Regions from separate parts of the Homo sapiens genome. Here region 1 is linked to region 2. The links are contacts of gene promoters, found by promoter capture Hi-C in human tissues and cell types (Jung and others, 2019). All regions are on one chromosome and are shown on one strand. The core of a region is centred on a gene start or on the middle of the fragment in contact, and the rest is flanking DNA. Distances in the headings are between cores, read along the strand shown. Region 1 overlaps STC2 (stanniocalcin 2). Region 2 holds the start of NEURL1B (neuralized E3 ubiquitin protein ligase 1B).

What was found. The method cuts DNA at HindIII sites, captures the fragments that hold promoters and counts their contacts. A contact is called where the count stands out against the background at its distance.
Region 1: a contact is called between a fragment that was not itself captured here and the fragment with the promoter of NEURL1B in region 2, in 1 of the 25 tissues and cell types used here (spleen).

What each region holds. Positions count from the first base shown.
Region 1 is chr5:173,319,544-173,322,989 of GRCh38, reverse strand. The region is part of intron 3 of STC2 (stanniocalcin 2); the gene reads left to right. Among named protein-coding and RNA genes, the nearest start is that of STC2, 7.1 kb to the left of the region's middle. The HindIII fragment of the contact is 5,604 bases long and covers 1-3,446 here.
Region 2 is chr5:172,639,483-172,642,934 of GRCh38, reverse strand. NEURL1B (neuralized E3 ubiquitin protein ligase 1B) reads right to left here and starts at 1,672. Exons shown (of 5, transcript NM_001142651.3): 1 at 1,498-1,672. The coding sequence starts at 1,528. RefSeq lists a silencer at 1,621-1,910. The HindIII fragment of the contact is 6,548 bases long and covers 213-3,452 here.

The sequences.
Region 1 (3,446 bases), core at 345-2,844, 680 kb before region 2:
GGGAAATCGTTTTACTAAGAATGAAATGTGTCGATTCAGTAATACTCTTCATCTTCCCCTTAGCCAAGAACCCACTAGCTCTCAGAATATTCTGAGTAGCTGTAGAGGTGTCCTTACAGACAGCAAATTGCTAATAACATTTGTTGAATATTTACTAAGCGCCAGGCACTGGGCTAAGGGCTCCTTGTGAATTTTTCACTTGATCCTCACCACAGCCCTCGTCACCTCCATTTGACAGATGAGAAAACTGAGACTCACTAAGGCAGAGCTCACACAGCTAGTGACAGGCAAAGCCAGACTTGGGACCTGGCTCCAGTCTGCTGAGCAGTCTGCCTCCAGAACCTATACTCTTAAATCCCGAAAACAGAGCTATAGATGCTTTTCCTGCCTCCTTAACTTTCCTTTCCCTTAGAAGGTTCGGTTTACCTTCTCTCATACATTAGTGCCCTCTCAGAGGAAATGCAAAACAAGTGCCAAAAACTTTAATCAGCTAAACACTTCTATGCCAAAACAAGGAAATGTGAACTTACTTATTTCAAGACTTGAAATTCAATGATAAATTCAGGATGCATCATTTCTTACAAAATATTTCAGCCACAGGATCCTAAATTTTGCAGCATGGTAAAGCATGTTGGTACACAATTGTTCCTAACATGAGGCAGGGCCAGGAGCCCCTGAAGATTTTTTTTTTAAATATTGACAATGGCTCTTTCCTAAGAGACACAGGGCAGAAAGAAAGCCACTAGCCAACCAGTTCAGTACAAGTCATTACCAGTTTGATGGCACTGTTGGTCTCTCCACGGTGACTCATTGAGCCAAATCGGTATAATTTTATGAACTCTTGATCCTCAGTTTGTGCCACAACCTTCTTCCAGTTATGTCCCTACCACACCAACACCACTTAGATGACAGAGAACAGCAAGCACCTCCTGTCTCTTTCCACTTGGTTATAAGGTCATAGGCATCTTGCAACACCCTTGCTACAGTGTTAGAATCATACAATTCATGGCGAAACTCTGCAGGAAGCTCTTGCCAAAAGCAAAACAATATTGCATTTTCCTCGAATTAGGCTAACGCCTTACAAAATATTTTTTATTCTTCAAATATTTTTAAGGGAACAATAGCAGCCACAGCATCATCAACAACAATGATAGCTGTCTTTTTTTATGTTTTTTTAATTTTTTTTCTAATGGTCTAGGCCCTTGGCCAGGGCCTTTACATGGGTTATCTCATTTATCTTTCCCAAAGATGCTACAAGATAGAAATTACTATGCCCAAGAGGAGGAAAGTGAAGCTAAGAGATTAGAGAACTCGGACTGAGGTTTGATTCCTGCTTTTAAGCTTCGGAATTGCTGGTATACATGACTGAAGCCAGTCATCAGGAATAGACTTCAAACCTGCTCCCAGCCTATTATCTCCCTCCTAGACCTGAAAGGGCTCACAGCTCCCCACATGTGGTGGGCTTCTTGTCCTTTTATCAAATATATCCCCATTACACAAGGAGAACACTCTAAAATTCCCTTCCTTCAGGTGCCTCTGGAAGAGAAAAATGCCCCATGGCTAGGAAACACCGTGAGCTTCACTCGCCTCTAGCCCTGTCCCCCATTAGAGAGAGTTTGCTGGCCTCAGGAATCGGTGGGGAATGGGGCCCATTCCTAGTTTATAAGGCTATAATGCATGCCTGGAGCACAGGAATTCTATCTTTCTTGGAGAAAAGTATTCTTTGGGAAAACTGAAGGTTGGAAGTCCCACCCCCTCCCCTTAATTTAAGAAGAAGGTAAAGCTCTCTGGCGTTCTAGTGTCTCCTTCTTGGGAATGTGGCCCTCGGGGCCATGGTCTCCTCACACCATTCAGAATGAGCCTATGACCCCCCACCCCAGCCTGCTCTGGAAATGCAGGCAGCCCATATAAGAAGCCTGGTCACATGCTGTTCCTCTTGCTTCCCCCTAAGTCAGCATCTCTAGGCAGGGGTCTCCCCTAACTCCAGCTTCCCAAAAACCCCCATTACCTTTCCTTCTGAAGCCATGATGTGGCGGTGCATCGACTTGTACTTCTAGCTGAACTGCCTGTTTTTTAGGTTTTTTTTTCCCAACCATCTTAACTGATTAAAGTATCCTATCAGTCCCCAAATATCAAGAAGCCCATTTCCAAATGTGTGGCATTGGTCAAAAAAAAAAAAAAAGAGAGAACTGAATTTGCTTTTCACTTTAGAGATGAGGAAATCACAGTCACCCCAGAATCTGCACCACCCCCATTCTTCAACCCAACCCCCATCCACACCAGAACACTCACCCCCAGTTAATGCTGCTCTTTTCAAGCTCTTCCTCTCCGCTCCCCTCACCCCTTCCTGCCCGCCCCACTTTCTGCACAGCATCTGTCTCCCCCTAGCTGCCGCCTGCCTGGTTTTACCCCCACTCGCCATGTCACTGGGTGCTGGCAGGCTCCAGGCACATCCCCCTCCAAGTATTTTTTAAAATCCTTTAGGCTTGCTGACACCCAGTTGAACGAGCTGGACTTTGTCATTAGACACGGGCTGAGCTTGCAGCCTCAGAAGGCACCAGGCCAGCTCGGAACACGGCTTGGATTAACTTGGTTCGGCACACACACCCCTCCCCGCAGTTCACAGCTTCCTCCTGGAGAGAGAGAGGGCCAAGGGCAGAGGACAGCATGGGCTCATCCAGCCTTCTGGGATCCAGATCCGCCCTGGGCTTCTGGGGGCTCATCTGGCAGACAGAACGCCCTGGCCGGGAAGGCGAAAGACAGTCTGCATATTCCCAAGACAGCCCTCCCCTTACTCTGGGGAAAGGAGCTTGAAGACAGCATCCAGTTAGTATCTCAGAAAGACAGACCCTCACCCCTGCAGTGTGCTCACCTAGCCCTGGTGCCGCGGCAGGCACAGTCAGGTGCTAAAATCCTGTTGCTGCTTTAGCAGACACACTCGGTGAACTTGAGCTCCGGAGGCAGTTTCTAGTTTTCAAAAAATAGAAGGAAACAAGCACGCGTGGAGCATTTCCCTCATATTGCCTCCTGCATGCCCACCTGCCCACCTCAGGGCAGTCCAAGGGACAGGGTTAGGTTGTCTTGCGCTGTCAGGGGCCTGCCTTAGGGGGTTTAAAGCCCTTTGCCCAGCGGCCATGCACAGACTTGCTGACTCCAAAGTCATCAAGCAGGCCCTAAACAGCAGCTGGATCTCTCTCAGCCAGAGCATTCCTCCTCTCTGCTCTGCTCTCAGCCAAGCCCTGGGCCCTGAAGCCCAGAAGCTTCCAAGAGCCACCTTCTCCCTGCTTTTCTCAGTTTTTGCATCCATGAGGTGAGGACAGTTCACTCAATTCCAACTTGAGGAATAATTAATAAAAAGGCAGTAAACTACTTCACACATCTCAAAACACAGTCTGCTCTTTCCACATAGCAACAACTGCCAACTTGCAAAGAAAAGGCTCCATGGG
Region 2 (3,452 bases), core at 423-2,922:
CCCAGTGTCTATGTGGCGAGAATATCTGCTGCCCTATTTGCCAACATCCCCAGATATCTCCTGACCCGCGGGTGGGTTCTCCCCCAACCTGGCAATAGCCCTGTCCACAGGAGGTAGAGGCCACCCTCCAGTAAGCAGACCTGGGTTCTAATCCCACCTCTGCCACTGACTAGCTGGTGACTCTGCTGATGATTACAGCTCTCTGGGAATTTGAACGTTTGAGTGCAGTTGCTCAGAGGCTTGTAAAGTAGGAGTTGGCTCCTCTTCCATAAGCTGACCCTGGGAATCCTGGGCTCAGCACTGTCCACTTCAACCCGCTCCAGGGGAAATTATTCTTTAAGAGCATGTAATGCCTAGAAGGGAGAGCTATATGGGAGTGTTATAGCAGAGATGGGGTGATATGTCCCTCTTCCAGAACCTCACACTAAATTAACCTCACAGCTGACTTGCTTCCCCATTGAGCCGAGCCTTTGTGCTTTAGACACACACACACTCCTCTCACCTTTTGCCCAAAGGATGCTACAAAGGCCCAGCCTTAAGACAAAATACTTCTAAATACTTGGGCGTGTGAGGGGAGGGAGGGCAGAGAGACACAGGTCCCACTCCAGATTCTCCCACTACTAGCTGTGTGACCTTGGGTGAGTCATTTCACCTCTTCTGACACTCAATTTTTTTATTTGTAAAACTGGGATACACATCTTTATCGCGAAGCTTCTTTGCATACCGAGCTGGGGTATGCAAAGTGCTGGGCACTGAACCTCCACGGGCACGCGCGGGCGCGGGACCGCTGATCTGTTCCCACAATTACCATGTATTTTCCAGTAAGGCCTCCTCCTACCCCGTTAACCTGCTCCGGATCCCCTCACTCCGGTCCCAGAAATTCTGGGGCGATTTTAACTAGGGGGCGATGCGATCTGCAGCAGCGACTCCGAGGGGGCGAAGGAGTCCCCAGTGGAGCGGACACCAGAGGGGGGCGCAACCGGGGTGCGCGTGGGAACGTGGCCAAAGCACGGCAGCATGTGCCGCGGGGGCGCTGGGAGGCTGGAAACTGGGGTGCCCCTGAGAGCACCCCTCACTCTCGGCAGCTGCAGTCTTGGCACCACGGGTGGCTTCTGACCGTCGGAAGCCCTGGCGAGCCCGGCTCCAGTCACCCCCACCCAGGTCGCCTTGAGTTTGCTCATCAGCGCCCTCGGGCTGGAACAAAGGCGAGGGGGCGCGCGGCATCGCCCCAGCGGCCCTTTTTGCGCATCTGGCCAAAGCCGGGAGAATGAGGACTGGGGTCCCCAAGGTAACCAGGACGCGGTACCCGCCCTCCCGGGGCGCAAAGCCCAGCCGCGGGGCGCGCGCCGAGCTGAGGTCCGGGAGGTACCGGAGACTCCAGCCCGCTGCGAGCCGAGGGCTCCAAGGGCCGTGGGGTAGCTCTCCAGAGTCACCCAGCGGGTCCCCCGGAGGAGAGAAGCCCGGCGCCCGCCTCCCGGGCAGGGCTCCCCGGCGTACCTGGCAGGGTCCGGTGCACCGTGTTGCCCATCGCTGCGTCGGGCGCGGCGTTGGCGGCGGCGCGCTCTGGGCGCGCGGAGGCTAATTACGCGGCGGGCCAGGGACCAGGACCGGGGTCGACGCTCCGGGGCATCGCAGCTGCACGGGCGAGCCGGCGGGCGGCAGCTGGGGCGGGAGCCGGGAGGGAGGCGGCGGCGGCGCCTGCGGGAGGAGGAGGCGGAGCCACCGGCCCGGGCCCGCCGGCTCCGCCCCCGCCTCCCACCGCCTCCAACAGTGCAGGGGCGGGGCCGCGGCCGCCGCATCTTTTGAAAGTTTGCACCAGGCGGCGGGAGAAGCACAGCCAAGCCTCCCGCCCTCGCCGCTCCCGCGCCCGGGCCGGGAAGGCGCGCAGGGCAGCTGGGTGCCCTCGGGTGCCAGGATCGGCAGTCTGCTGGCCTGTCACCCATTTGTTCTAACACTTTGAGAAGGCCCACTGTGTGCCAGGCCCTCTTCCAGGCGCGGGGCCCCAGCCGGCCGAGTCCTAGCCCCGGCAGACCTCTTTGGAGAGTGCTTCGGCCCCGGGGGAACTTACACAGAGGCAGACGGGCCCCTGGGACCATGTAAAGGGCTTGGAGACAGTACACCCAGGGTTCCCGGGTTTGGGTGGAGTCTTTTCTATCCCCTAGGCCAGGTACCGAGGAATAGAAGAAACCCAGTGTCCAAAGATTGGGAAGAGGGAACCCACATTCATTAATTTATTCGCTCATTCACTAAAATATTTATTGAGCACAGTCTATGCACCAGGCACTGTGCTGGGCCGGGTAGATACAGACAAGGTCCCCACTGCCCTGGAGATGGCATGCTGAAGATAGAAATAACAAGCAATTACGATCACATTATATAATAATCAAAGCCAGGAAGAAAATAAAACAGATCCCAGTAGAGTGAGGAGATGACATTGTTTGGGGGCATAGGGAGAATCTGGGGTGGGGGCACATAAGCTCCATCTGATGGACTAGAAGGCGTCGGCCATGAGAAGAGATAGGTAGAGTGTTCCTGGCAGAGGCAGTAACAGGCATTCCTCATTCAGGCACCTGGACCACACTCAGTGGGAAGTGCAGCTGTGCCCTTCTCGAGCTCCATTTCACAGGCTGGAACGCTGAGGCCCAGGAAGTGCAATGACTTCCCCAAGAAGACCCGATTCCAAATGAGCTGTTTTTTTCAATTCTATTTTTCATGCTCTTGTATCCCTTGAGACTTTATGAAATATGTATTATTACTTCCATTTCACAGATAGGGAAATTGAGGCTCTGAGAGTGGAAGAGAGGTGCCCAAGATCTTCCAATGGTACAGGGCAAAGCTAGCCTGAAGCTATGCGAATAAAAGCGGGGTATTCAGGAGACAGCCTTCTGCATCTCCGGTGCCTTCTGCTTACAGTACATGACCCATCCCAGAGGGTTCTAGGGTCTTTAAGGCCAGCTCCAAGCTTCCACTTCCGGGAAACCTTGATTCCCCACTCCCCCCTGACGTCATATGTCTGAACATAAGATTGCCTTGCATTTGAGTTACTAATTTCTCATATTACAGGTGCTCGCCCAGTGACTTAATTTTTAACCCCAAAGTTCTGTTTGAGAAAGGTCCGTTAGCGTGATCCTTTTTTTTTTTCTTTTTTTTTTTGAGACAGAGTCTCACTCTGTCACCCAGGCTGGAGTGGAATGGCACAATCTTGGCTCACTGCAACCTCTGCCTACCAAGTTCAAGCAATTCTCCTGCCTCAGCCTCTTGAGTAGCTGGGATTACAGGCACCCACTACCACGCCCCGCTAATTTTTGTATTTTTAGTAGAGATGGGATTTCATCATGTTGGCCAGGCTGGTCTCAAACTTCTGACCTCAAGCGGTTCCCCCACCTCAGCCTCCCAAAGTGCTGGGATTACAGGCCTAAGCCACCTCACCTGGCTGATCCTCCTTTAATCTA